Regions from separate parts of the Homo sapiens genome. Here regions 1, 3 and 4 are each linked to region 2. Evidence: promoter capture Hi-C in 16 types of primary human blood cells and fetal thymus (Javierre and others, 2016). All regions are on one chromosome and are shown on one strand. Each heading gives the region's core, a stretch centred on a gene start or on the middle of the fragment in contact. The rest is flanking DNA. Distances are from core to core; before and after follow the strand shown. Region 1 overlaps SMG7 (SMG7 nonsense mediated mRNA decay factor). Region 2 holds the start of SHCBP1L (SHC binding and spindle associated 1 like). Region 3 has its middle 6.1 kb from the start of NCF2. Region 4 overlaps SMG7-AS1 (SMG7 antisense RNA 1).

What was found. Contacts are between HindIII fragments. The CHiCAGO score rates a contact against its expected background, and 5 or more counts as called.
Region 1: a fragment that was not itself captured here is called in contact with the fragment with the promoter of SHCBP1L in region 2 in 1 of 17 cell types (M1 macrophages); the score reaches 5.5 in M1 macrophages.
Region 3: a contact is called between a fragment that was not itself captured here and the fragment with the promoter of SHCBP1L in region 2, in 1 of 17 cell types (endothelial precursors). The highest score is 5.7, in endothelial precursors.
Region 4: a contact is called between a fragment that was not itself captured here and the fragment with the promoter of SHCBP1L in region 2, in 3 of 17 cell types (megakaryocytes, M1 macrophages and endothelial precursors). The highest score is 5.2, in megakaryocytes.

Annotation. Positions count from the first base shown.
Region 1 is chr1:183,523,298-183,531,222 of GRCh38, forward strand. SMG7 (SMG7 nonsense mediated mRNA decay factor) reads left to right here. Exons shown (of 23, transcript NM_001375584.1): 5 at 3,299-3,470; 6 at 4,659-4,730; 7 at 5,595-5,745; 8 at 6,101-6,236. Among named protein-coding and RNA genes, the nearest start is that of SMG7, 55 kb to the left of the region's middle. The HindIII fragment of the contact is 690 bases long and covers 3,748-4,437 here.
Region 2 is chr1:182,947,702-182,955,634 of GRCh38, forward strand. It overlaps SHCBP1L (SHC binding and spindle associated 1 like), which reads right to left and starts at 5,465. Exons shown (of 10, transcript NM_030933.4): 1 at 5,028-5,465; 2 at 3,617-3,766. The coding sequence starts at 5,432. It also overlaps the pseudogene LOC100271717. The HindIII fragment of the contact is 6,039 bases long and covers 3,647-7,933 here.
Region 3 is chr1:183,593,088-183,599,969 of GRCh38, forward strand. It overlaps a transcript of NCF2 not described here. Among named protein-coding and RNA genes, the nearest start is that of NCF2, 6.1 kb to the left of the region's middle. RefSeq lists enhancers at 722-781, 6,303-6,802. The HindIII fragment of the contact is 2,564 bases long and covers 2,558-5,121 here.
Region 4 is chr1:183,462,049-183,470,000 of GRCh38, forward strand. SMG7-AS1 (SMG7 antisense RNA 1) reads right to left here. Exons shown (of 5, transcript NR_040063.1): 3 at 7,626-7,751. It overlaps LOC105371646 (a long non-coding RNA gene), which reads left to right. Exons shown (of 4, transcript XR_922351.2): 4 at 1-835. Among named protein-coding and RNA genes, the nearest start is that of SMG7-AS1, 6.0 kb to the right of the region's middle. The HindIII fragment of the contact is 3,386 bases long and covers 3,858-7,243 here.

The DNA of each region.
Region 1 (7,925 bases), core at 2,843-5,342, 570 kb after region 2:
CTAGTACTGCTCTAGGGCTAATTGTGACTATTTGGACAAGTCACTACCTCTGTGGTGCTTAGCTTTCTGATTGTAAAAAAGAGAGTTGACAAATGCTTATAGGTTCATTTTCCAGTTTTATAGTTCCATGATTATAATTTGGGAAGAACTAGAGGCATTAATATTCAGCTACAGCCTTAGGAATATCTCCCAGTCAATACTTCTGTATAATGAAGTAACTAAGTTCTTATCAGACTGAGGAAACTACTACAAAGTAATGTACATCAGGGTCAACCTATATGAAGGTAGGACATTGTTTTGTTCAATTTATGAAACATCCTTTTCTCTTCTTTAGTTCCATCTTGTTACTGCCTCTAAACCAACTAGAGCTCTCTTTCTCAGAATCTTTGAGCCAGTAGGAGCTTTTCTGTCTGATATCACCACTTAAACTCTTGGGCTCAGGCAGAAATTTTATTACAAGACATTCTACATGATGTTCCAACCATAATTTTATTTATTTTTTGTGATCTTTCTTTTTTGTTTTTGCTAGATGTGCAGCCTTGCCTAGTTTTCCAGTCTGTTTTTTCATTACCTATTGAAGTCAGTTCTTTAACCCTCTCATGTTTCTTAGTTATCCACTTTTGTTTTTTGTTTTTTTCATAATATATATGTAGGTATATATATATTTACATATATATATTTTTTTTGTTCCTGCCCTGTGCCTTGTGCTTTTTCTATTTCTTAACCCATCCCGTTCAGGACATTAACTTATTTACCCTGTTTTTTTATGTATTCATTTTATTTTATTTTATTTATTCATTTTTTAAGACGGGGTCTCTCTCTGTCACCCAGGCTGGAGTGCAGTGTATATCATAGCTCACTGCGGCCTGGAACTCTGGGGCTTAAGTGAGCCTCCCGCCTCACCCTTCCAAAGTACGGGGACTATAGCACTGCATGCCACCACACGTGGCTAATTTTTTGTTTCACTTTATTTTCATTTTTATATTCATTCATTTGTTTATTTTGTAGAGACAGATTCTTGCTTTGCTGTCCAGGCTGGTCTTGAACTCCTGACCTCAAGTGATCCTTCCGCCTTGACCTCCCAAAGTGTTGGGATTACAGGCATGAGCTACCATGCCTGGCCTTGTTTACCCAATTTTATGTTAGTGAATTTCTTGCCCATTACAAATGTACAAGTAAAGATGGAGTAAATAATTTCCATGCCCAGTGAGAAAGGGTGCGCAGAATTTATATTTAGTTATGGAGGTGATTTTTATCTTAGGAAAAAGGTGGCATGATTCAGATCCTTCTGAGTTGAGCCCTTAGGGTGTCTTATTTTGTATTTTGAATTCTGTACATGCTAGAAAGAGTGGTGATAGAATCAAAATATTTCTAATTCTATAACCTTAGTCCAGTCGCTTGATTATTTCTGCCTTCACATCCTCATCTGAAAAAAATTGAGCTTTATATCTATGTATACTGTGTTGCTACTAGTTTATCACAAGGATAAAGTGAGACAAATTTATCAGATAACCTAGGGAAATAAGTTACGTTATAAATGTAGAATATTCTGTTGGTTATATTGTGTGTCATGTTGTCTGTCCTTCTCTCCTTTCCCTTTTCCCTCTCCCTCCCTCTCTCCCCTCTACTTCTCTTTTTGTACCTGACTTGCCCATTTAGCTACAAGCTCATGAAGGAAACATATTTTCTTACTTGTCTTTGTATCTTTCTTGTTTACTGGGTGTCTGATATACTAGCACATACTTGGATGAATATAATAATATTTGAATGACGATATTTGTAAGTAAATATTTGAATAACTGTGAAGTAAATATTCTTCACAGTGTGAAGAACTGTGTGCGGGGCAAGAAATAAGCCCTTGGCAAGCAAAGTGAGAGGAGAAAAGCCTTTCTATGAAGGAGACTGAAAAGGAGTGATTGGAGAGATGACAGAGAACTAGAACAGCTCAGTAATCAACCATAAGATCAGATGTTTTAAGTGCAGCAAAGAGGTCCAATAAGATGATGTCTGAAAAATATCCGTTGTATTTGGCTATTAGGTAACCAATTGTCTGATAGTAGTTTCAGTAGAGTGGTAATGGATGGTTGGGTGAGAGGAGGGAGAGGGGTTGTGTGGAAGCCAGATGATAATGGATTAAGGAGTAAATAGAAATTGAGAAAGCAGATATGAAAAGTGTGGACTCCTTTGAAGGCATTTGGTTGAGAAGAAGGAGAGACATTAAAAGGTTGCTATAAAGTCAAGAGGAGAGTGTTTTAGCTCTGTTTTGTTTTTTGTTCTTGTTTTTTTCTGTGGGAGACGTGGTGTGTAGGCCATAGGAAAGAAGCATGAAAAGTTGACAGTAGATGAAAGAATGGAGAGGTGGGAGACAGACAGGAACCAGAAAAGAATGTAGCAATAGGCACACATAGGCAGAAGAGTTAGCTCTGACTAGGAAGAAGAGCCCCTCATACTTTAAGAACAGAGAAGAGAGGAGGTAGGAATGGGTGATACAGTAAAGGTGTACACTACGGTGAGATTCGTTGTATATGCAAAGACATGTGAATTGGCATACAGCTTAAGAAAATAAATTGCAAGAAATACCTAAAGTCTGACAAATACCTTGGCTTACATTTAAGTCAAATTTGTAACCAATATTTAATAATTTTTGGGTTTCTGAGAGTAGTAGCTTTCTTTGCTTGCTTAATGTGTCTGAAAATCGTGTCTGAAAATCCTATCCAGTTAAATAATCTTTTTTTAAAATGCTGCTGTATGCACATCCTAGATTGCTGTAATACTTGAGAATTCAAAAGGTATGATTTATAATGAATGATACTAGTTATCCTGTGAAAGATTAACGTATAATATATATATATATATATATTTTTTTTTTTGGAGACAGTCTTGCTCTCTCACCCAGGCTGGAGTGCAGTGGCGTGATCTCGGCTCACTGCAACCTCCGCCTCCTGGGTTCAAGCGATTCTTGTGCCTCAGCCTCCCTTGTAGCTGAGACTACAGGTGCTCACCACCACTCCCGGCTGATTTTTTTTTTGTATTTTTAGTAGAGACGGGGTTTCATCATGTTGGCCAGGCTGGTCTCAAACTCCTGAGCTCAAGTGATCCGCCCGCCTTGGCCTCCTAAAGTGCTGGGATTATAGGCGTGAGCCCCTGTGCCAGGCCCGAAAGATTACCATATAATTTTCATGCAGTTTTTGTTCAGATTTCAGCAGTATGTGGTACTAGGTACACATCTTACAGTTTATAAACTTTACTTTTAGAGCACTTGTGACTTACTACTAAATTTTGTTTGTTTTTCTTTTAGTTATTACAAGAACTGTGTACAGTATTTAATGTAGATTTACCATGCCGTGTGAAGTCTTCCCAATTGGGAATTATCAGCAATAAACAGACGCATACCAGCGCCATAGTGAAGCCACAGTCTAGCTCCTGTTCCTATATCTGCCAGCACTGCCTCGTCCACCTTGGAGACATTGGTGAGCCTTTGCTGTGAAGGAATTGATAATATGTTCCTCCTTTTCTTTGGAATAGTCATAGAAAGAAACTGTTTTCCTTTAAGCGGAGCATACACACACAATTTAGATTGTCATAAGAAGAAACTATAAAATGTATTCTAAGGAACTTAAAATTTCTCAATATTTTTGGGATTGGCAGAGCATCGTGAAGAAAGTAACTTTCATATTAAGATTTAAATTTTATTCCAACTTTATGTAATTTATATAGGCAAATAATAAACAGCAAAAACATAATCAAAGCTTAATTTTTCAAAGTGGTGCCATAATTTCTAAATTAAATGTACTCTTCTGGAATAAATGAGGTTTATAAATTACTCCTGAAGCGAAATTGCCTTCTTTCTTTCTTACCAATGGACTAAAAGTTGATTTTTAATTTTGCTTCCTTTTTAAAGTTTAATTTGTATTTCTATTATTTGCATTTTATCTGGGAATATTATATAACTTATTTATTCTTGTTCATTCCTTTAAGGTGACCTAGAAAGGTTGTAAAACAAATTAACTATAGGATTATGTTTTGCTTGTCCTCAAATAACAAAGAATGGAGAACATTACTGCTTTTAAGTTTGAAATTTTAGATTTCTTAATATTGTAAGTCAGCGGTTCCATGAGGAGGTCACATCAGAGTAAGCAGTGAGTTTGGCAGGGAGATTCATTGATACTGTGTTTAGGTTGTTTTGCTTTAAATATAATCTTTGCACACACATATTTAATATTGCAATAGGAATGAGACATTTTTCAAAATCACTTTATAAAATATTGAAAAATACATAATTTTCAGATCATATTGTATAGTGTATTTTGTTTTGTTTTGTTTTTAAGTGCCATATAACTCACCCCTTCTTGTGGGCCGGCTCCAGGTCACCAGCATAGTCCATAGTGGGAGCTGGTGATGCATGACACTGGAGGACCTGAAAATGGGGTCTAGGTAAGCTTTAAAATTGGTTACATGCTGAATGTCCCAAATAAGGAAGGCTGATGGACACTTCACACATAATCCTATAGTTAATTTGTTTTAAAGTATTTTGTCTTTAATTTTAAATTAACTTTAATGTCTTTATTATCTTTAGAACTTAAAACTATAGCTGTTTTGGAAATACTACCCTACTGTTTGTTTTTTGGGTTTTTTAAAACTAATTTTCTTCTTCTTAGCTCGATACAGAAACCAGACCAGCCAGGCAGAGTCCTACTATAGGCATGCAGCTCAGCTTGTCCCCTCCAATGGTGAGTGGACCTGTCAACCTGAGATTGACCGTGACACTTTGTTCTTTATAACAATGTGGCAGATAACTCAGGGCTCACCTTTGAAGTTTTATGAAAGCAATAAATGAGTTTTGTTATTGTCATGTTTTTCCATTTAACTGTACATTCCATGTAAACTAAAATGAATTTTTTTTACAAGTAAGATGACTTTTATTATTTATTTTATTTTATTATTTATTATTGTCAGTAAAGCAATATAGATAGAATCTCTTAATGTAATCTGATATTGTTTCTACAACTCTGGCTTCCTTAATTGCTTATAGAATAATTATTTCTTTAGATACCACCATTCCCCTCCCCCCAGAAAAACAATCTATTACCTAAAAGATAATCTTTTAATGGCCCCAAACTAGGCATTAGCAGTAGTTCTTGAGTTACAGAAATTACAGCAGATATTTAATTATTTAAATCATTCTTACTAAGACGTTGAAATTCCTTTAGATTCTAGAAAGAGTCTAAAGCAGGGATGATAGTCTGACCACACTACTTGTTTCATATTTGTTTATGGCTGCTTTCACACTACAGTGGCAGAGTTGAGTGGTTGTGATAGAGACCCTTTGGCCTACAAAACTGAAATTATTTATAATCTAGCCCTTGCTGAAGCCGCTCTCTACCCTAATATTGACTGTTTAACCTGTATATGATAGTGTGTACTGTCGCTGAAGTGTGCTGTTGGACCTTACGCTGGTTTGCAATGAGGCAGTCATATTTACCTTATAAAAATACTCCCCATTGTTTGAGTATTTAAACACTGATCATTTGTATTCTTATAGCAAGACTTTGTCACTCTTGGGGTTACTCCAGAATCTTAACTTTCTCCTGTAGGTCAGCCTTATAATCAGTTGGCTATCTTAGCTTCTTCCAAAGGAGACCATCTGACCACAATTTTCTACTACTGCAGAAGCATTGCTGTGAAGTTCCCTTTCCCAGCTGCCTCCACTAATCTGCAAAAAGCACTTTCTAAAGCACTGGAAAGGTAGGGTTGTTTGGTTTTTTTTTTCTCTTTCCAAGAGGACTTTGTAACCTGGAGCCTTAATTCCTCATAATTTGGTTTACAGAAAATAACGGCCTATGCTTCTCTTATTTCTAAACATATAGATTTTTCATAATTTGTGTATAGTCACTGAATTTCATCCAATCAATATCTGATTCAGTCCCAGTAAAAGAGTACACAGGCTGTTAATACTGACTCATCTTGAGTGTGTTGCAGTTGAAAAATCAGTCAAATACAGCTCTTTTGTGTATCAAGTATTTAGCAAGCCAGTGCCTCCTTAAACAGTTGTAGCCAATTTGCTGCTTATGATTCATGGAATTTTTTTCTTTCATTTCAGCCGAGATGAGGTGAAAACCAAGTGGGGTGTTTCTGACTTCATCAAGGCCTTTATTAAATTCCACGGTCATGTGTACCTGAGTAAGAGCTTGGAAAAGTTGAGCCCTCTTCGAGAGAAATTGGAAGAACAGTTTAAGGTTAGATTTCAGAAATAGAGAATTTTTGTCTTGTCTAAATCAGGAAGCATAACATTTGGAGGAAACTGACTCCCAGTTTTTGTAGTTACTTAACTGTGTGAACTATTGGTAAAAATTATATTCGAAGTATGTGAAATCTTTGCATTTATCATCCCTTCAATTTAAACTGAGGTACAGTCTGTATAAACAAATATAATATAGCAGTGTTTTCACTTGAGTAGTTGCCATTTGACAAAAATTATCAAAGTGGAAAAAAATAAATAACTCCTCAGTTTTGAAACTACTACTACTTTTGATGGTTTGTGTATTCTTAGATATGATTATGTTACCTGCTTTATAGATATTGGCATTCTCCAAACCAAGTTCATTATTTTTATTGTGCTTGCATTCATCAGGATTGTGGTAGTTTGAATGAAAGGAATGAGAGTTTCATTTAACAGGGATATATTTTACTAATTTGAAGAGATAACATTAACCTTCATTCTATTTATATATGTGAAAATGATCTTTTATTAGTATGTTAAGATATTAGCAGTTTAAATGTATAATGCATAAAATAAGGAGAAAGTCAAAAGTATTAACTTTTTTTCAGTTCATGTATTCAAATAAATATTTGACTACTCATCGGTCATTGTTTTAGGCACTGTGTTAAACAGTAAATGACAATTTCAAAGAACATTTTATATTTCTTGGTTATTTCTAGGTATCTATATACTTGGGTAATTGTGTATAACTGCTTCATAGTATTTCTGTAAGTTCTTTATAAGTCAGGCATTTTAAGAGATTGTAGAACTTGGACAGTTAAGGTGTCACTTAGCCAAAAATAGTCAATGCGAAATAGTTTTTACAGGTAATCGCTTTTTGGTTGATACTTTCTATGTGCAAGATATTAGAATAGATAATTATAAATAGCAATAGTTTGTTTTGTTTTAAAATATACTTAGCCTGTGACATATGATGTATAAGGTTGGGTGTGTGAAAGGAACAGCTAACTTTGTCATGTCCTAGGCTGTTCAGCCTGGAAAAGAACAAACAAGTCTAAATAGTTTTCATAGTAAGTATTCAGACATGTGAAGGATTATTTGAAAAGAACATACCTGTATCTTTCCTGAAGTCAAAACTAAAATCTTAAATTTTAAGTTGAAATCTATAGGGGGCTGACCGTGGGATGTTGTGGATTCTCCATTTTGGAGAGCTTAACAGTCAGATTGACAGCCATCTTTCTTGGATTATTTAAGTGCAGTCCTACTAAATAGGGGATTGGACTAGAAAACTTCTTGAGATTGCTTCCAGCTCTGGTTCTGTGAAATACTCTCTAAATTGGTGGTGGTGGGTGGTCCCTACCTTAATGAGATCTTCACTAACTAAGTTATTCTAGTCTAAAAACCTAGTAAGTTTTGCATTTGGTTCAACCTCAAACACTAACACTCTCTTCACATATATATTTCTGTATGTGAAGTTCTGGTAAGTGTGGGTGGGCAGTTTCTAAAATATACTTTGAAGTATCATTCCAGCACTCTAAAGTTAAACATAAAACATAGTATGAGGCAGATCTATTTGAAAGCTTACCCAGTGTTGAACTAGAACATTGCTGGAGTGAAATTTTAACATAGTGGAGTAAAATTTCCAAAGTATTTCTAAAGCATATGTAGATAATTAGTATCATCAACATGTATACTTCAGTGTTTC
Region 2 (7,933 bases), core at 4,215-6,714:
AATAGTAAATATATTTTTCTCTTCCTTATGATTTTTCTTTTATGAGACAGGGTCTTGCTCTCAAATTTCTGGGCTCAAGTGATCCTCTCACCTCAGCCTCCCATGTAGAGAGGACTATAGGTGTGCACCACCACCCAGTTCATTTTAAAATTTTCAGTAGAGATGAGGTCTTGCTATGTTGCCCAGGTTAGTCTCAAAGTTCTGACTTTAAGCGATCCTCCTGCCTTGGGCTCCCAAAATGCTAGGACTACAAGCACAGACCTCTGTGCCCTGCCTTTACAATTTTCTTAATAACATTTTCTTTTCTCTAGCTTACTTTATTGTAAGAATATAGTGTTTATCATATTTATGACATACAAAATATGTTAATCAACTGTATACGATATCAGCAAGGCTTCCAGTCAACAGTAGGCTATTAGTTAAGTATTTGGGAAGTCAAAAGTTATACACGGATTTTTGACTGTGCAGGGCCCTGCACTGTTCAGGAGTCAACACTATGTTTCTAAGTTTTTTGTTTGTTGGTTGGTTATTGTATGAATTCATGATAGGCATAATAATGGCCCCCAAAGACGTCCATTCCCTAATCCTAATCTGTGAATATGTTACCTTACATGGCAAAATGGACTTCACAGATGTGATTACAACTAAAGACATTGAGATGTGGAGGTCATCTTGGATTACCCAGTTGGGCCCATTCTAATCACGAGTCTATTAAAAGGGGACTGCCTTTTTAGCCTGCAGTGAAGCAGAAAGATGCAGTGTGAGAAGCACATTGAAGATGAAGGAAGAGGGCCACAAGCCACAGAATGCAGGCTGCTTCTAGAGGTTAAAAAAGGCCAGGAAACAGATTCTCCCACACAGCCTCCATAAAGGTATGCAGCCTTGCATACACCTTGATTTTAGCTCAGTTAGGCCCATGTCAGACTTCTGACCTACAGAGTTGTAAGATAATAAATTTGTATTCTTTGAGCCACTGAGTGTGGTAATTTGTTGTGGCAGCAATAGAAAACTAATACAGCATCTAAAGAAAAAGCGATCAGGGGCCCATAGGAATAAATTATTGTGACATCAGAACAAAGAGTATTATATAGCATTATTAATACTTCAACTGAAGTAAGACTAAAGAAGCAGAGTCAGATAAAACAACAATATGAATTGTGCAGCACTATCTTAAGAGGTCCCAAGAGCCATTCTCACTTGTTTTTCTGCCACAAAAGAATTAGAATCTGCCAATATACTGTTTTGCTTTTTCCTCTGTTCTTATGCTTCATCCTGTCTTTCTAACATTTAGAGGACATTACTAGACCCTCACAAATTCTAAAGCAAGGCAGGGACAGATTAAATAATCAATGTATTGCAGGTAAAACCTTAGAAATTGATAGAACTTTAAGGTTACCTAATCCACTGAGTTTCCATGGAACTTTAGAGATCTTGAAAAGTTTTATGGAGTATAGGGGCTATCATGAGGTATGGAGAGAGCTGCTAAGACACCATCATCCATTTCAATCAGAAATGTTCTGCTTTAATGTTAAGCTTCCACATAAAACCTGATTGAAAAAAAACCCACAAACTTATACTAAAAAAAAAAAAGTCATAAAGCCAGATGAAAACCATTTTTATCCAGATGAAAAAAATCCAGAGAAGTTGTGAAAGATCTCGGCAAAGCTACTCAAAGTCTGAAGATGAGCAAACCTCTACAAAACAGAGTACTACTGGCTGGGCATGGTGGCTCTGCCTGTAATCCCAGCACTTTGGGAGACTGAGGTGGGTGGATCACTTGAGGTCGGGGGTTCGAGACCAGCCTGGCCAACATAGTGAAATCCCGTTTTTACTAAAAACACAAAAATTAGCCGGGTGTGGTGGTACACGCCTGCAGTCACAGCTACTCAGGAGGCTGAGGTGGGAGGACTGCTTGAAACCTAGAGGAAGAGGTTGCAGTGAGCTGAGATTGCACCACTGCACTCCAGCCTGGGCAACAGAGTTAGACCTTATCTTGAAAAAAAAAGAAAAAGGAAAAGAAACAGTATTACTGAAATATTAACTAATAGAGTCTTATTGAAAAATTAACTAATCCCAATAATCTTTTACATTCCTTTGTAATCTCTGTGACTGAAAATATGGTATTCTTTTTTTTTTTTTTTTTGAGATGGGGCCTCACTATGTCACCCAGGCTCACTGCAACCTCTGCCTCCCAGGCTCAAGCGATCCTCCCACCTCAGCCTCCTGAGTAGCTGGGACCACAGGTGTGTGCCTGTTTTTCTGGTAGAGATGGGGTTTCACCATGGTGCTCAGGCTGGTCTCTAACTCCTGAGCTCAAGTGATTCACCTACCTTGGCCTCCCAAAGTGTTGGGACTACAGGCGTGAGCCACCACGCCCAGCCGCCATTCTTTATCTGTAAAACTGACACTGACTTTTCCACAGAACACATATTTTTAAATTGTTTTCAAGTAGTATATAATACAACAAGTTACATACATAAGTTTTTCTTGTATCCAAAAATACAGATTTAAACTAACTATCTGGGGTAAGGGTATCATTTGTGGTTATAAATATTAATTTCTATATAAGGATAATTGACCTTTAACAGAATCAAACATGCCACAATGTTTAGCCTACAGGCCTAACAAAGAAAAATCTTATTAGGGCCGGGTGCAGTGACTCATGCCTGTAATCCCAGCACTTTGGGAGGCTGAGTCAGGCAGATCACGAGGCCAGGAGTTCGAGACCAGTCTGGCCAACATGGTGAAACCCCTTCTCTGCTAAAGATCACAAGGTTAGGAGTTCAAGACCAGCCTGGCCAACAGGGTTAAACCCCGTCTCTACCAAAGATACAAAAAATTAGCTGGGCATGGTGGCATGCGCCTGTAATCCCAGCTACTCGGGAGGCTGGGGCAGGAGAATCGCTTGAACCGGGGAGGCAGAGGTTGCAGTAGCCGAGATCACACCACTGCACTCCAGCCTGGGCGACAGGACGAAACTCTGTTTCAAAAGAAAAAAAAAAGAAAAATCTTATCAGATAAAGGCTTGGAAGATATTATACTAGAAGGGTACTTTTTTTTTTTGAGACGGAGTCTCACTCTGTTGCCCAGGCTGGAGTGCAGTGGCATGATCTCAGCTCACTGCAAGCTCCGCCTCCTGGGTTCACACCATTCTCCTGCCTCAGCCTCCCTAAAAAGGGTACTTTTCAAAGGAAAAAAATTTCAAATTTTCCCAGTAGTTTTCTGATCCATTTCTTTTTTTTTCCTCATCTGAACTAAACTTCTTAATTCAGATAAATGAAGATTAAAGGGAAAAGACAGAAAAAGAAGGCCCAAGTTTGTTAAAGACTGAATCACTAATTTTATAAGAAATGCATTTTTGTTATTTTTACATTAGTTGAGCAAAAACTAGGCTAATAAATATTGTCTGATACTACTAGATTCCATTTAATGATAATGGTTTACAGGCACTAATATTCCCCTAACCTTCTTTTTACACTATTAATTTTCTCGGAAACTTAAAACAGAAGTAAAAATGTGTCAACTCTTGTGTATCAATCTCCAAATAATAAAGTCATATTTTAGTCTTTAAAAGAACTGATTCAAAAAGAACAAAGATCAAATAAAATTTATTTACCTCAACCAATATACCAACAAAAGGGATAGAAGCTTCTTCATATTTCACAAAGAATACACTGGGATTAGTCTTCCAGACTCCAAGCCATTTGTCTTTCAACTTTAATTTTTCTGATAGGTATTTACCCATAACTTCATCAGCATCTTCTGCCTAACAAGAGAAAAAATGGATCTACATATAAATATATGAAATTATAGATTTTAAACTAAGTGGTTTTTTTTTTTTTTACTGATTTCTATTTTAAAATGGAACCAATATAGCCTTAAATAATGAATGACCTGGAAAATTACAGATTTTAACTGAAACCGCATCTAGTGGAAAACATCACCAACAAAAAATTAAACTTAAAAGAGATCTATTCACTCGAATAATTCATAGATAAGACAGCTAGTTATTGTTTATGTCTTAATTTTCAACTTTTTATAAATATCACTGCAGTGAATATGCAGGTACACAAATTCTTCTGCTACAACTTAAAAAAATAGGTTAGAAACATGAAATATTTGCTCTATTCCGTTTTATCAGATATGTATTTTCTATAAAAGAAAGTCATGCCACCAGGCACGGTGGCTCATGCCTGTAATCCCAACACTTTGGGAGGCCGAAGCGGGCAGATTACCTGAGGTCGGGAGTTCGAGTCCAGCCTGACCAACTGGAGAAACCCCATCTGTACTAAAAAAAAATACAAAATTAGCCAGGCGTGGTGGCTCATGCCTGTAATCCCAGCTACTCGGGAGGCTGAGGCAGGAGAATTGCTTGCACCGGGAGGCGGAGGTTGTGTGAGCCGAGATTGCCCCACTGCATTCCGGCATGGGCAACAAGAATGAAACTCCGTCTCCAAAAAAAAAAAAAAAAAAAAAAAAAAAAAAAAAAAATATATATATATATATATATATATATATATATATATATATATATACACACACACACACACACACACACATTTATATATATATATACACACACATATATATCATGCCGCATTGTGGACTGCTGAGTGGGAAGTACCCTTAAAGTAATTTCTAGCATTCTAGTGTAAAAGTCAAGGCTAAGTGATCTTACTCATGTTTGGACATAAACTGTTAAATAAAGGTACCAAGATTCATGCCTGTGCAATGATAAGGCCAATATATCTTCATTTTTTAGGAGCTCTCAGAAAATTCTCTCTCAGGGCTGTCCCGTTACCTGACGAATTTTGTCGGAAACTCGAACCTTAACTCCTCTAGGGCAGGACGCGGGCACCTCTAACAAGGTGAACGCTCTATACATGTTGACTCCATTTACTTTTTTGAAACGCAAGTTTTCGTTGTGCCCTGTGGATCCCCATCCGCCTAAGAGGGAAGCCCCAGATGCCTGTCCCCAGGTTCCGACGAGCTTCCGACCGTAGTCTTCCTGTCCCGGATCCGCTCACCTTACAGTCCTGCAGCACTTCGTCGCAATACAGCGACACCTTCTCGTCCCGCCACATCCCCCTCATACGGGACACGCAGACTGGGGGCAGGGGCTGCGCCTCCTCTTCATCCTCAGGCACTGGCAGCAGGGGCTCCTCCGCCGCCGCCGCCGCCGCCTCTCCCGTGTCCTCGGCCTGAGCCGCGGGCAGGCGCTGGAGCCGCAGCCTGGCCGTCTCCCGGCCCGCTTTCCCCTTCACCGGGCGAGGGGAGGCCACCACCGACCGCACTGGGATCGCGGTGCCCTTCAGGGTGGTCGCGGCCGCCGTGTCCCCGGAGACAGCGGAGGCGGACTTCTCGCCTCGCCTGTCCGGGCTGATGGTGCGGAATGAGTCCGCGGGCACCGAGGCCTTGGAGCCCGACGCCATCTCCTCAGCAGCCCGAGGGCCGAGGCAGCCGTTGGCCACTTTTCCCGCCCTCGGCCGCTCTGGCCAATAGGCGCTCTGCGCTTCAGGCCCGCAACGAGCGGCTGCTCGAGGGCGTCCCGCCGGGTGGGGTGTTGCGGCTCTGGGAGGGATGTGAGGCGCGGCCCAGAGCTAGGGGGTGCGGGGCCTGCGGGTAGAGCGCGGGGTCCTGCGGACGCATTCAGGGTGCTGGGGGGCGCTGCTCAGAGCTAGGTGGGACAGGGCGAAGCGCCTGGGCTCAGGACAGGGGTGGGGGGGCCCGGGTCAGTGTTGGGTGCGGCTCCGTGCCGAACCCCCACCAGGTGCCGCACACACCAGAAGGTGCCAGACGAGCCCAACGCAATGGCTCTAACCCCAGCCCTCTGTCTCCCCCAGGGGAGGTTTCCTTAGGGTCCTCATACGTTTCAGGGTGATTATGAGTCACCTTCCAGGTCATCAGGACCTAAAAAAATGCTCCACCTACCACTCCACAAACAAAGCCTGAAAGAAAATTTATTTTCATACTGGGAGGTGACACTAACTGGAACCCTCTGGCTATTACTAGAGGAAACCCTAGTGACAAATCCAGCAACCTAGATTTCCCTTTTAGCCCCCACCTATTACAGGGTTCACCAAATAGGATTTCCTTTACATTTTAAATAGGACTTTCACTTTTTGCCAAGATGTGGTCATACCAAGGAGAAGTTAGTCTGTTTTCTTGTCTCTGTTGTGCTATTCAAAATTCTCACATAAAAGATTATATTATATAACTGTTAAACTGGACAACAACTTCCAGCTGGGAGTGATGTGTGCAAACTATGAACACTTTCACGATAAAAGTCTGTTCCAGATCATACATTTTGGAGAACAACAGAGACCACTCACTTCTGGTATTTTACTGTTGAATGTATATTGAGCCAATTGGAATTAACGTTTGTTCACAGTCTAGCTGTGAAATACTGCACTGAAGCTGACAGCTCCCAAGGAGAACAGCATTGGGAAAACACCTGCCTTCCTTCACACTCGTCTGGAAGAACACTATGTTAAATTCTGAGTTTATTTTGAGGAAAATATTAACATCATGTGGCTGGGCGCGGTGGCTCACGCCTGTAATCCCAGCGCTTTGGGAGGCCGAGGCGGGCGGATCACAAGGTCAGGAGATCGAGACCATCTTGGCTAACACGGTGAAACCCCGTCTCTACTAAAAATACAAAAAATTAGCCGGGCGCAGTGGCGGGCGCCTGTAGTCCCAGCTACTCGGGAGGCTGAGGCAGGAGAATGGCGTGAACCTGGGAGGCGGAGCTTGCAGTGAGCCGAGATTGCGCCACTGCAATCCGGCCTAGGCTAAAGAGCGGGACTCCGTCTCAAAAAAAAAAAAAAAAAAAAAATTAACATCATGTTACTGTAGTTTAGGGAATAATTACAACATGCATCATGTTTCAATTCTATTCTTACTTTATTCCTTTCGTTGAGTCCTGGACTTTGTTTATAACAATACTAACTGCATATTTCACTCACACACACACACACAAATGTTTTACTCTAGTGTTTCTTCAAAAGTTTGTTTTTGATAAATTATGGGTTTTTTAATTCTTAGGTTCTGAATAATAAAGACCACCTGTCCTGGGCCAAAGTTTAAAAACAGCAACAGCTCCCTTTTCCTCCAAAAGGCAAATACTTGTTAGAAATCTGTTACATGCCACACAATGCGTAGATGCCACAGTTATAGAGGTAAAAGACCAAATCCCTGCCCTCGTAATCCTAGTGAAAGATACAGATGGGTCAGTAGATGATTGTGTTTGGTAAGGACCATGCTTTTATTTATGTAAATACACATAAATACATACATATATATATTTATATACACACAAATAATTTGTATTTATTTATGTGTGTATATATATGCGTGTGTGTGTGTGTGTGTGTGTGTATATATATACACATATATTCCACATTGTAGGAGAAAAGGACCTTTCTTCTCCAAAGAAGGGATACTTAAGCTGAGTTTTTAAAACAACTTTTTTCTTTTTTTTTGCCTCCCAAAGAAATTTAGCTTGTTTCTCCCACCTCCTGTCTCCTCCAGGATGCTTTGACAAATGGAATACCACTGTCCCTTTTTCCTACAATGACTCCCTTCTCCCAACACAGAGCTCCCAATGCCCAGGCTCAAGATCGGCTTTCAGTTCCACCCATGGCCACTGCGTTTCTTGGTCATTCTTCAAGGGGTCTTTGTGTTCTCAACCTTCTGCCGCAATCCCAAGTGGAAGCTCTGTTGGCTCGCCCTCTAGTCCTCTTCCTGCTGAGCCAGTCTTCAACTAGGAATCACACCAGAGTCACCAGGACAAGGAAAGCTAGGCCCATCTGAAGGAGATTCTGGGCAGTGTGGTCTCAGAGGGCACAGTCTTTCTGGAGTCCCGTCTCTGGTTAAAAGGTAGGTGTCCCAAGAGCCAGAAGAGGTGGGGTCTGCTGGTGTTCTCAATGTCACC
Region 3 (6,882 bases), core at 2,590-5,089, 640 kb after region 2:
CATGTGGCCCTTAATCACTCTTCACCAATGTATGTGCATGCAAGTCTTAGCACCTCAAATAGTGTGCCTCAGGAGGAAGTCCTGGGCTAACCCATGTTTGTATCCCCCAGGGCACTAGCAAAGCCATTCATGCTCCATTTCATCCACTTTCCCTCCCCTTCTCCTGTCACCACTCAGGCCAAGCCACTATCAACTCCCAGGTGAACATGATAGTCTTTTAACATTTCTTTGCCTCTCCATCCAGATTGAGCTTTTAAAAACACAAGTCAGATCACTTCATGGCCCCTGTTTTTAAACCTTCCATGGCTTTGCACTGCTCTCAGGATATAACCCGAACTCCTTCCCATGCTGCAGGAAGCCCCCTGCCTGCTGCCCTGTGCTCATTCCAGGTCATTTCCCCTCCTCCTCTCCCAAGAACTCCAGCTACACAGGCCTCCTTTCATGGTTTCATATGAGCCAGCCTCTTCCTCCGCCCATGTAACACTCTTCCCCCAAGCCTGCCTGGCTAGTTCCTACTCATCTTTCACTTCCTCAATGAGTGGCCTTTCTAGATCCATGACCTTGCTATGTGCACGGTTCTCTCTGATCATGTATTTGTTACAGTTTGTAACTGTATGTCATCTGTGACATTGTTTCTGTCCCTCAATGCAGGGGCAGTCTATTTAATCATTACTTGGTGCTGTTAGTAGACGGTCTGTTCAGCCACTGTCCATTCGCCTTCCTCCTTTTGGTAGAACCCCAGTTCTGTTCAAGCCTCCAGTTTCCTGAAGCCATGCGCTTCAGGAGGGAAAGTCTGCTAAGAATTTCTGGGAAAGATTTCTTCCCCAGTGATAAAAAATAAAACACATGAGAAGAAACAGCACTTGTTTCTCTACTAGACAGCATTGTGAGATGTGTCTGGAATATGGCAGCTGTCTTATAATCATGAGGGGAGACAACTAAGAACAAGCCATTGTCTGAAAGAAAAGAGAATGGAAAATTACAAAGAGCTCAGATGCTTAGTTATGCTGATGAGATGTGTTGCATTATCTGTTTTCTGCAAATCTGGCTGGGCACAATGGCTCACATCTGTAATCCCAACACTTAGGTGGGAAGATCCCTTGAGGTCAGGAGTTAGAGACCAGCCTGGGCAATGAAGCCAGACCCCATCTCTACAGAAAAACACTAAAAATTAGCCAGGCATGGTGGCACATGCCTGTAGCCCCAGCTTCTCAGGAGGCTAAGGTGGGAGGATCATTTGAGCTCAGGACTTCAAAGGCTGCAGTGAGTGATGATCACGCCACTGCATTCCAGCCTAGGTGACTGAGCAAGACTCCATCTCTTAAAAGATAAAAATAACGTTTTCTACAAGTCTGAAACTGATCTACCTTGGAATTTCTTGTTTGGTTAGATAATAAGTTTGTTTATTGTTTAAGTCATTCATATCAAGTTTTCTATTAGTTATGGTTTAAAATGTTCTGACACACACACCACTGGATTCTCGGTACCTAGTACAGGGCTTGGCATATAGCAGGTGTTCAATAAACATTACTTGTTAAATAAAATTTGTTGAGGCATTGGTTGGGTAACTCAGTTTCATCTCGATATTTTCAAAATTATTCCAAAATTCCAAATAAGCAAGATTTGCATATGATTGGTTAACACTACAAACTACTGTTGCATGTATTTATTCAGCTGGAAGCCAAGAACACTCCCAAGACCCTCCTTTTTTTTTCTGAGGAAGAAGCCTGTAAAATCAAAATAAAACTCATTATTCCTGGGCACTCAGGAAATACTTTTTCATTCCTACATTTAGATTTTAGTGTTCTATCGCTCTTTAACTTTTTCTGGTACATGAGACTTCTTTCTTAAGCTCCTCAAAGGATAGAGCCAACTCTCCACTGTCCTTCAGTCTTTCGCCATGTTTAGCACGTAGTAGCTGCTCCGTGATCATTGGCTAATTAATTAAATGAACTGAAAAATGAGAAAACTGAATCCTACTTGGAAAAATATAATTTTGTAAAGTTTGTCAGTATCATGTTAGTTGCATAAAGTGAGGTACATTTAGACTAGTAGGGAAAAGAACGCACTTTTTTGCCGTCAACTCTAACATTGAGTAGATAGTTTCATTGAGTACAAGACAGGAAACCCTGAAGGAGGCAGGGAGGAGACCTCATTTATTAGATATAAACTTGGCCTGGATCTCACATGAAGGATACAGAAAAGTCAACAGGGGTCCTGTTGTTCAGCAATGCTATTGAAAGCCTCAGGGCTTGAAATCGTCTTTCTCCAGGAAGGCAAGTTAGTCCTGTCTAATCTGTCGTTGGGTTGGTTTTCCGTTGCTGCATGACAAATTACCACAAACTTAATGGCTTAAAATAACACACATGTACTATGTCACAGTTTTCATGGGTCAGGAGTCTGGGCACGGCTTAGTTGGGCCCTGTGCTCAGGGTCTCACAAGGCTGAGATCGAGGTGTTATCTAGGCTGCTTTCTCATCTGGAGACTTGACGGCATCTGCTGCCAAGCTCCCTTGGTTTGTTGGTGGAATTCATCTGTAGCTATAGAATTCATGAAAGCTTCCTTCTTCAAGGCCAGCAATGGAGGCAGAGAGAATCTCTGCTTCATTAAGTCTCTTACCTCTAGACCTTCTCTTAAAGGAGTCACCTGATTAGGCCAGGCCCACCCAGAATATTCTCCCTTTTGATTAATTTAAAGCCAACTGCTTAGGGATGTTAATCATCTCTGCAAAAATCCCTTCACCTTTGCCATGTTCTATTGATTAAAAGCAAGTTACAGGTCTCTCCCACTCAAGGGGAGGGGATTACACAAAGGCAAGGATCATCAGGGATCATCTTAGAATTCCACCTGCCACACCTCAGCAGCTCCAGTCTTCTTCCCTGACTTACCAGTGAGATTAATTATTCCTGCCATGTGCACTCAAGGAGGTTTCTCTCTACCTCTCCTAATGTGTGTTCAAGCACATGTGATTGTAATTACTTGTTTAAACGACTGTCTCTCAACTAGACTGTAAGCCCCGAAAATACAAGATCTGTGTCTGATTTTTCCACTGTATCTTTTGTGCCCATGATATGGTGGATTTTTAACATATCTGTTAAATAGCGATGCCATGGAAGGTGCTTTTAAAGTCAGTGTGATTACTTAATTTGCTTGGCTAAATATATGTGTCCTAGCATCCTAGATGAAAATGAGGGAATGTATAATGCCTATTCATTTAAAGACACCTCATATTAAGCACTCTTTTTCATATTTGTACCCTTTACACACACAATGTCTAGTACCTGCATAGGTGGTCACTCAGTAAAAGTTTGATGAATAAATGAATGAATGCATAGAGATTAAAGATCTGAATCCTGAATGAAGCAAGTAAATACACTGGATCCTCACTATAAATTGTCCTTTGGGCCAGGCACAGTGGCTCACACCTATAATCCCAGCACTTTGAGAGGCCAAGGTGGGCGGATCACGAGGTGAGGAGTTGGAGACCAGCCTGACCAACATGGTGAAACCCTGTCTCTACTAAAAATAGTACTAAAAATAGTACTCAGGAGGCTGAGGTAGGAGACTCTCTTGGACCTGGCAGGCAGAAGTTGCAGTGAGCCGACATTGCATCACTGCACTCCAGCCTGGGCTACAGAGCGAGACTCCATCTTAAAAAAAAAAAAAAATTGCCCTTTGACATTTCTCTGCAGATCCAAATCCTGTCCATCTGTCCATCTGTAAAAGCTCAGCTTAGACTCACATCCTACGTAAAGTCTTCCCTGATGTAAGTTAGTCTCAGTAATTTTTTTCTCTGAATTCCTATAGCATTTTATGATCAAACCCCAAAACACAAGCACTCTATCACATTATCTGTTTTCTACCTTATCTATCCAGCTAGCTATAAATAGGTTCTTTGAGGGCAGGGAACAGGCTTTCTATTTCTTTACATTTTCCACAGAACTGGCACCTAACATCTTATATCAAAGTCTTAATAAATATGTGCTGATCTGAAAAGTAAAAAAGAAATATGGTTGATGTGGCATGATTCTAGTCCTGCATATCTTAGGAACTTTCCCTTTTTGGATGCAGTTGGCCTTTTCAGTCCTGCATTTTTCGTCTAGAGTACCCATTCACTAAATGCAATCTAGTCATAGAGCCAGGGATCTCTTTTACATGTGTTCAAAACTCCGTGGGTCTTTTTCTTTAGGAAGATTCCTGTCTCAGGATAGTTTTTGTGTGTGTTTCCCAAGCCAGTGAGTATCTAAGGGGAAATGATGCTCTAACAAGACAGTTACTGATGTTGAAGGAGTAGAAACTGATCACGTCATTGTACAAAAAAGCGGAGGGGGCACAGAAGAGTTAGAAATCTACCCCCTATTTAGCAGAACAGAATTTTTTAAAAAAATTTAGATTCAGGAGGTACATGTGTAGGTTTGTCACGTGGTATATTGCAGGATGCTGAGGTCTGGACTTCTATTGATCCTGTCACCCAAATAGTGAACATAGTACCCGATAGGTGGTTTTTCAACTCTTGCCCACCCGTCTCCTTTCCCACTTTTGGAGTCCCCAGTGTCTATTGTTCCCATCTTTGTGTTCATGTATACTCAATGTTTAGCTACCACTTATAAGTGAGAACATGCAAGATTAGATTTTCTGCAAAACAAAATTTTTAAAGATTCCCTTTTGCTTTCCCTGTAGTGTCCCTAACGACCGTGTCTGGACATACAATAACTATTTGCTGAATCACTGAATGAATGAACAAGTGAAGAGTGGACATCTGTTAGGGTATATGCCTGTCTCTTCTCTGGGACCTGCCTGTGTAATCCATAGAAGGATGGTAGGCCCTGTGGCCACATTTGTACTGCCTGAGTCCTGGCTGGTTGGACCCTGGTGGGCATCTGACAAGCTGGCCTCATTAGGTTATGTCTCCTGTGATTCAGGATTTAGGACTGAGAGGTGTATAAACCTAGGAGCTGCAGTTCTATCATGCTGTGCCCTGAGGCCCCGGAAAGCAGAGGAAGCCAGACTACTCAGAGAGAATGGAACAGATGCCCAGCGAGGAGCAGAGACAAGAGACACAGAAACTTTTCAGTCTCCGGTTCCAGCCTTTCCTGAGCCCCATCCAAATTCCTGCCCCAAGCTTAGACCCTTGCAATAAATTTCAGTGTTTGCTTAAGTTTGCTGTAATTAGTTTTGTTGTATGCCAAAAAATAGACTTGACTAATACAAAGTGAAAAATAGATGTAAGCCCCAGGCCCAAGACTCTAAAATAATCAATTGCTAAAGAGAGACAGGAGATTCTCAGAAACAAACATAACCATGTGTTACTCAGGAATACGGAGATGAGGGAAGTGGGGAGGCAATGAGACTCCCCAGAGAACGCTCTGAGGAGGCCAGACATGCACAGATGATGGAAGCCATGGCTTCTGACCAAGGAGAAATCCAAATGCTTGGCAGAGATCAAAGGCAGAGTATAAGGAAAGACAAAGCCCAGAGTGAGCTGAGGCTGCATAAAAAAAAAAAAATTACTAAGGACAGCACAAAGGTCTTTTTAGTATCAGAGAAAGAAGAGCAGGGAGAGGGAGAGTCATGGCTTGGTGGAGATGGTGTCATTTTCACAGATGTCAGAGTGAAAGCAAAACTGCTCAGCTCCTATTTTGCTTCCAGCTATACAGATAATTGAAGACCCAGATAGAGGATGGTGAGAAAGTTGCTAGCTGCTTTAAAGAAATTCATTTTATCAAATGTAGACTCGTTAAAAACCAGGAATCGATAGAATTTGTAAGTGTGATCCCTAAAATCTTATCAGCATTGAGATTCAGGAAGCCAGGATGTATGGGCAAGTATGAGTCCAGTCTTCTAAAAGCTGTGAATTCTAGAAGTGGTATCAAAGACTTATGGGCTGAGCCCTAGAAATAATTATAAAATACAGATTATTAAACAAAGGCACTTACAAACCAAAAGGAAGCTATTACATTTAGGAACTAGCATGAGTTTACTCAAAATAAGTCAGGTCAAAACAAACTCTTGACCAGGTACAGCGGCTCATGCCTGTAATCCCAGCACTTTAGGAGACTGAAGTGGGAGGATTTACTTGAAGTCAGGAGTTTGAGACCACCCTGGGAAACATAGCAAGATCCCATCTCTACTAGAAAAAAAAATTAGCTGGGTGTCAAGGTGAGCACCTGTAGTCCTATCTAATCAGGAGTTTGAGGCAGGAGGATTGCTTGAGCCCAGGAGTTTGAGGCTGCAGTGAACTATGATTGCACCTCTGTACTCCAGCCTGTAGACAGAGACCTTGTCTCTAAAAACAAAACAAAACCAAACCTCTTTTTCTTTCTTTCTTTCTTTCCTTCTTTCTTTCTTTCTTTCTTTCTTTCTTTCTTTCTTTCTTTCTTTCTTTCTTTCTTTCTCTTTTCTTTCTTTCTCTTTTCTTCCTTCCTTCCTTCTTTCTCTCTCTTTCTTTCTTTCTTTCCTTCTTTCTTTCTTTCTTTCTTTTGAGATGGAGTCTCGCTGTGTCACCCAGGCTGGAATGCAGTGGCACTATCTCTGCTCACTGCAACCTCCACCTCCCGGGTTCAAGCAATTCTCCTGCCTCAGCCTCCCAAGTAGCTGGGATTACAGGCGAGCACCACCACGCCTGGCTAATTTTTTGTATTTTTAGTAGAGACAGGGCTTCTCCATGTTGGCCAGGCTGGTCTCAAACTCCTGACCTCAGGTGAAACGCCCACCTCAGCCTCCCAAAATGCTGGGATTACAGGTGTGAGCCACCGTACCCTGCCCTCTTTTTCTTTTTTTGAGAGGATTTTCCTGGTAGGTGAATTGGGAAGGTGCCATCTACCAATATCAGTAAGATATTTGGCCAAGATATTCCTTAGACAATTTACTTGGCTAAATAT
Region 4 (7,952 bases), core at 4,301-6,800, 510 kb after region 2:
TCACTCTGTTGCCCAGGCTGGAGTGCAGTGGCGCAATCTCGGCTCACTACAACCTCCACCTCCCGGATTCAAGTAATTCTTCTGCTTCAGCCTCCCAAGTAGCTGGGATTACAGGCGTGAGCCACTGCTCCCGGCCCTACACTTATCTTTAATGTGCTTCCTTTTCAATGTCTAATGTTACTTTCAGACTCCTATAATATAGAAGTTCAGGCATTCTTTAAAAACAATGCTAACCACCACCAAAACAACAATAACCATAATAAACTCAACTTTGCTTTTTGGTTGGCAGAAAATGTTGAAAAATGTATGAAATTAAAGCCAACCGTAAGTAGTCTACCTCAGAAATAGCTGCTATTAACATTTTATTATATGTATGACCATTTTCTATGTAATTCTATTTCATAGTTGCACTTTACATCTATAGTTTTGTATCTTTCAGGCATAATTTAGTATACTTTTAGCCATGGTTTTCCATCACTTTTCTGGTAGATGAGCTGTATGTATTCCTTTTCCTGCTGGGAAATAGAATGTGAACAAGTAAACTATGCAAAATCTCATTCTGAAGGACTTTACAGTTGACTGGGACACTTACGTGGATTATCTGATTGCATGCCTGTACTCGATCTCAAGTGGAATGGTTCCAAAGACCTCTACCACGGCATTTGTCACTCTATAATATAACTTCCCTTTTACTTAACTGTCTTTTAAACTTAAGCTCTGAGAGCAGGACTGTTTGTTCACCATTTTCACCCTAATGACTAGCATATGACCTGATACAATGAAAATTCTATTTATGAAAAGACTGAAAGACTGAATAAATTACTAAATACTAAAATTCTAGAGGATCCACAGCTCATCAAACTTCTCCATAGTAGCAGGATACACCAAGATTAAGATTCCCAGAAGTAAAATTTTAGTTTCGATATAGATTTGTCTTGAAAAAGCAGAGAAAGATGGGAATTGATCATCATCAATTGAACATGCTCTATAGATACTAAACTCAATTCTACCTAACATTCCTACAGTGCTTTCATGCTGAAATTTGACTGTTCCTCAAATACTTAGAGAAAATTAATTTCAGCTTCTTTCTACAGCTGGTAACCTTCTGTAACATCTAGGCCACTGCTGCCTGTATTTTGGAAATGTTGGCATTCCAGTTATTTGGCATGCCCTCTAGTCCTGGTCTTACCCACAGGAACATTGTTAAAGAACTAAAACTGGTGGGGTGCATTGACTCATGCCTGTAATCCCAGCACTTTGGGAGGTTAAGGCAGGTGGATTGCTTGAGCCCAGGAGTTCAAAACCAGCCTGAGAAACATGAAGAAACTCCATCTCTACTAAAAATACAAAAATTAGCCAGGCGTGGTGACATGTGCCTGTAGCCCCAGGTACTCAGGAGGTTGAGGTGGGAGAATGGCTTGAGCCTGGCAGGTTGAGGCTGCAGTGAGCTGTGATTATGCCACTACGCTACAGCCTGGGTGATAGTGAGAGACCCTGTCTCAAAACAACAACAAAACAACAACAACAACAACAACAAAAATTAAAACTATTCATGTCCTCTTGGACAAAGAAATGGATGACTTGGAGGACCATAATGGGAACATTATAGCCAATGGTTGAGAGAGCACGAGAGTGAAACAGCATGCAAGTCAAAGCCATTCCAGAGGTGTTAGTTTGAAAGAGGGCAGGGGAAAGCATAAACAGCTGGTTTTGCTCCGTAGAAGCCTCCTTATCCTCTTTAGCTTTGAACCAGATCTTGGCTCTCATTTCATTCAAATACAAAACAGCTAATGAACTGAGATATCCTTCACAAATAGATTAAAGAATTTATACTGGCCAGGCATGGTGGCTCACACCTGTAACCCCAGCACACTGGGAGGCTGAGGTGGGAGGATCACTTATCACTTGAGGTCAGGAGTTCATGACCAGCCTGGCAGACACAGTGAGACCTCAAAAATAAAGAAAATTTAGCTGGGCATGCTGGTACATGCCTGTAGTCCAGCTACTTGGGAGCTTGAGGTGGGAGAATCACTTGAGCCCAGGAGGTTGAGGCTGTAGTGAGCCGTGATTGCACCACTGCACTCCTGCCTGGGCAACAGAGTGAGACCCTGTCAAAAAGAAAGGAAAGGAGAGGAGAGGAGAGAGGAGAGGAAGAAAAGTGAAAAAAAGTAAAGAAAAGAAAAGAGAGGGGAGGGGAGGGAAGAGGGAAGGGGAAGGGAGGGAAGGGGAGGGGAGGAGAGGGCAGGGCAGGGCAAGAAAGAAAAGACAGAGAAAGAAAGAAAGAGAAGAAGGAAGGAAGGAAGGAAGGGTCATATGATAAAACTGGTCATATAGTTTTGAGGCAGTATGCTGTGTACCTCTACAGCAGTTTGTATTTGTTTTTAAAGGTGCATTTAACCTACATTAATTAGAGTGTGTATGCAGTTCTTATTCACCCTTTATATAAAGTAAGAGCATTCGTTGAGTGTCTACTAAGTGCCAGGCTGCTTACATATGTTACATGCCTTATTTAATTGAATTGAATTCAGAACCTGCCTCCAGAAACATAATTATCACATTTACTTTGAAATTGGATATAGCCCTTTCCTTAAAATCCTACATTCAGTTTACTTAGCCCTATCCCATTACAGGCAAAAAAATTAACAATAATAATGCTAGAATTTATAAACACTTCTCTGGTGAAAAATAGAGACCACTGAGCTTTCCATTCTACACCCTGATCCAATTTTCTTTCCGAAATTTTAAAGGTAACTTTTTGTATTACATTCTAATTAGCTGATAGCCTCTCTTCTCTTTTGCCATCCTTCCCTAGCACCCTCTCCTGCCACATAATGAAAGAATTAACTGCACCTAATCTCAAATTTAAAAACATAAAGTTAAATAAAAATAATTTGGACGTTGAAGACTTTTTCTACATCAAAGTCTGAGATGCTGTTGTGAGATAACTGATGAGTTATCCTTCATCTTATAACTGTGCATTTTACTCATTGCTTAAATATTTCATTTAATTACAACTTTAATCTTGTTAAATGTAATAGCAATTTCAATTACCGAGATTAGTTGAAGGCCCAATAAAATTATTTTCTTACTGCTTTAGGATTACTTCTAAAGAATACGTGGTCCAATTTTTTTTTTGTTTTAGAGATGGGGTCTCACTATGTTGCCCAGGCTGGTCTCGAATTCCTGGGCTGAAGCAATCTTCCACCTTGGCCTCCCAAAGTGCTGAGATTACAGGTGTGAGCCATTGTGCCCAGCTCCCAAATTTCTATTAATTTGGTTTTTGTTTTTTAATTCCTTGACTTAATGAACATTTATTGAGCATTCCTTGTATCTGGTGTTCTGCTAGGGAAGTGATAATACAAGAGTAAGCAAAATAGGCACAGCATCTACTCTTACAGAGCTTACAATTGGAGGTAACAGACATTAAACAAAGATTTACAAATATGAAAGACTTACAAATGCCATGAAAAAGAAGGGCAGAGTGCTATGGGAACATATAACCAGTTTAGCTAACTTAGCCTAATGGTTGGGGGTTGGAAAGTAGAGAAAGCTCGTCCAAAGAAGTTCAGATTTAGGCTTAAAGCATAGGTAGACATAAGAGTAGTCTGCGGAGAAGAATTACCCAGATAGAGGGAACAACTTATCTAAAGGCTCCGAGAAGAAAAGAACACTGCTTATTCAAGGACCTAGCAGAAGGTCACTATAGCTAGAGTGGTGATACCAGGGGGTGGGGAGGGTTGTCAGAGAAGAGGCAGGCAGAGACCAGAACAGAGGTCATCATAAGGATTGGAAACTTTATCCTAAGGGTAATGGAAAAGCAATGGAGACTTAAAGCCAGGGGAAAAAACTTTTTAAAAAGCTTAACATAGCTAAAATGTGGAATATACGTACACATTAATTTACTATTTAATTTGTTCCAGAATGTGTTCTTACATCTTAACCCAACAATATTAAGAATTGTTTTTAAGATGGAGCCTTGCTATGTTGCCCAGGCTGGCCCCAAACTCCTTGGCTCAAGTGATCCACCTGGCTCAGCCTCCTGAGTAGCTGAGATTATAGGCACCTGCCACTGTGCCAGGCTAATATTAAGAATTTTAACAAATATGACCAGGTGAGGTGGCTCACCTGTAATCCCATTACTTTGGGAAGCCAAGGCTGGAGGTTCTTGAGCCCAGGAGTTTGAGACCAGCCTGGGCAACATAGGGAGACTGCTGTTTCTACAAAAAATAAAAAAATTAGCTGGGCATCGTGAGGGAAGCCTGTAGTCCTAGCTACTCGAGAGGCTGAGGCAGGGGAATTACTTGAGCCCGGGGGTTGAGGCTGCAGTGAGCTGTGATCATGCCACTATACTCCAGCCTGGGCAACAGAGCAAGACCCTGTCTCAAAAAAAAAAAAAAAAAAAAAGAAAGAAAGAAAGAAAAAGAAAAAGAAAAGAAAGAACTTTTACATATATGGAACAAACTATCCAGGTTTTTGATATGTAAAAGTTTTCTGAGAATAGAAAAGACCCTGGGATTGTTAAGCAAAGCAAAAAAGTGCTTGGATGCATATTCTTAGTATGCCTTGAAGTGATGGACCTAAGTCCTAAGTTTCTTTGCTTTTCATCTTTATCACATTTTAACTTGAATTGCCAATTGAATTGGTACAATAATAATGTCAGGGAAAAGAGGAAGGTGTGTGTTATTTCGTTTTCACACTGCTATAAAGATACTACCCGAGACTGGGTAATTTATAAGCAAAGGGGGTTTAATTGACTCACAGTTCCATATAGTTGGGGAGGCCTCAGGAAACTTACAATCATGGTGGAAGGGGAAAAATGGACCTTCTTTACAAGGCAGCAGGGAGAGACAAACAAAGGAGGAAGTTCCAAACACTTACAAAAACATAAGATCTTGTGAGAACTCACTCACTCATGAGAACAGCATGGGGGAAACCACCCCCATGATCCAATCACCTCCCTCCCTGGACACGTGGGGATTACAGGTCCCTCCGTCAACATGTGGGGATTATAAATAGAGATCAGATTTGGGCAGGGACATAGGGCCAAACCATATCAGTGTGTGCATGTGTACATGCATGTACATGTTTCCCATGGTTTTGAAGAACAGATTTATGACAATGAATATCAGTATCACATTCTTAGTGCTCCAAATTACTATCTACCTGATAAAAGTTAGGAAAGTAGAAACTAGAAAATATTAAAAGATTATGTTATTTTAGTTGGGTGTTTTAAGAAAAATATGGCAACTTCTAGGTAACTGAACAGACTTTGACATGAAATATGTTGCTGTTAGATTAGGGACCCACAAGATGATTTCAGTAAGTACTGTGCTTCGGGTAGTAAAGAGATGCATGAACACTAAGGCCTTCTGCCAATAAAATAAGAGAGGCTACGGTTTTTGTTTTTGTTTTTCAATACTTTTCAATCTTTCCTATGAGCATCTCTTCTTGTCTTCTCCAGATTGTGTCCATTAAATCAGCAGATAAGAATTTTAGGTGTGGTAATTTCTCAGAGGTATTTGCTTATTGGGAGTTGGGGGAAACCTTGAAGATAGTAAGATTTCCCTTAGTAAATATTAGGAGAATGGAGAAGTGAAGGGGGAGAGAAAGCTCTGAATATTATTCCCCAACTGTCACCTCAGTGCCTCCCAAATCAGAAGTTTCTTTTCTTCAATCTTGGACTGCAATGATTCCCGACTATTCTTCAGGCTAAAAGACTCCCTCTTTGGAGTGAATGAATAAATATACACTTGGCAAACTGTTTGAAAAAGGCTACTGACCCTTGATCTAAGAAATCTTGAGCAACAGGAGACCTGAATTTAAATGTCAATTTGTATCTGACTCACTATTTGAAGAGAATGAATTACTCATTTGATTGAATCACTTAACTCTATGGTCTGAGGTGTGGTACTGAAGAGGAATGAATGGCTAGCTTCACACATATTGTGTACTGAGTATGCAACTGATAATAAATGTGTTTCTGCTTTGATGAGAATGATTTACCAAGTTCCTAATTGTGCACAGGATTTATAAACATTCAGAATATATAGGATAAATATTAAAATAAATTAGGGCTTGTTACGATGTCATGGCACAGGCTGTCTATTATTATAAAAAGGGAGGAGGCCTGCTATGTATTAATCGTCAGGTTACCAAAGCTCTGGGTAAATTTGGTAAGAATGTTAAGAGTAGCTTCTCAGCAAGTACTGTGTTTGATTGAAAAGAGGCCATTCCATCTACTTGGACAGAAATGTGGTTATATTAGCCTGTTTTATGTGATAAAAGGTTTTTGAAAAGTTTTAAATCTCTAGCATTGGACTCACAATGTCCTAATATTGTGTTCTTTTCTGTAATCAGTCATGAATAAAGAAATCTATCTTCTAGCACTGGATGCCAATAGATTTGAATGTGAGTTCAGACCTATGAGTATTATAGACAAAGACTAGATTGAGAGCTGGGTACAGTGATTCACACCTAAAATCCCAGCTACTTGTGAGGCTGAGGCGGGAGGACTGCTTGTGGCTAGGAGTTAGAGATAGATAGCCTGGGCAATACAGTTAGGCTGCATCTCTATTTAAAAAAAAAAAAGACTAGATAGAGTATTATTTTAAAAAATAATGTTATGCTGTAGTAGTTCTATTTTACTCTTTTTAGCTTGATATAAAAGAGCAAAAGGGACTGGGCAAGGTGGCTCACACCTGTAATCCCAGAACTTTGAGATGCCAAGGCAGGTGGATCACTTGAGGTCAGGAGTTTGAGACCAGCCTGGCCAACATGGTGAACCTTGTCTCTACTGAAAATACAAAAATTAGCTGGGCGTGGTGGCACACACCTGTAGTCCCAGCTACTTGGGAGGCTGAAGCACAAGAATTGCCTGAACCCAGGAGGCAGAGGTTGCAGTGAGCTGAAATTGTGCCACTGCACTCCAGCCTGGGTGACAGAGTAAGTCTCTGTCTCAAAAAAAAAAAAAAAAAAAGCAAAAAGGCAGAAAAAAATTTAATGTTTATCAAGTTCAGTGTTGTATAATGGGCACTCAATCATGTATGTCATCATTAAAGGTCACAGGAAGCCTATAACAGGTAATGCTTCCATTTTGGTCAAGGAGCAAACTGAAGTTCAGACACCAAGATGGCAGAGTTAGAATGCATACTCAGGTCCGTTAGCTTGTGATCTTTCCATGAAATCACTTAGCCAAAAAGACAAACCCAAAAACAAAATCTGGTAGGATTAATGTAAGTAAGGAAGCTTCTCTTTAATTTCTTTTGGTTTAGATGTGATCTTATATCTGTAGGGGGGAAAAGGTGAACAATATCTATTGCAAAAAGAAAGATGTTTGTAATTCTACAAGTTTGTTGACTAGGACAAGTGGAAATAGATGAAAATGGAAAATGTGTATTAAACAGTATATAAATAGAAGGTAATAATTTTTCTGAGTCCTATTGATTTTTGAAGGTAATTTTAATATTAGTATCAAAGTCTTCTAATCTCTAAAATATACTACTATTCTTCTATTTAGCTAGAGATATTGTAAAGCTATTGAAGACTCTTATAAGATTCTTAGGAAAGCTGCTATAAAACACAGACTTTATTATTTCTGACCTCATGTGTTCCTACTTTGTTCTTACCCCAATTACTGCATCCCTCATATTGCATCCTAATCATTACTCTGAGCTCTCTACCAGCAGTTGGGTTTCCTCAAGGCAGGGACCAGGTCTCTTTCACTGTGGTGTCCATCATAACCAGAACAGTGTCTGAAATATAATAAGTACTCAGTAAATGTTTATGGAATAAATCAGCAAACACTAACAAAAGGATTCATCTTTCTGATCCGTTTCTCTATTTCCAAAATGAGAAGATAGTAGTAATATTTTCCTAGATTGCTTATCAGGAATGTATGATAACTGTTCATACACTCTTTATTGGAGATATGTGCCACAGACATAAATGGCTAT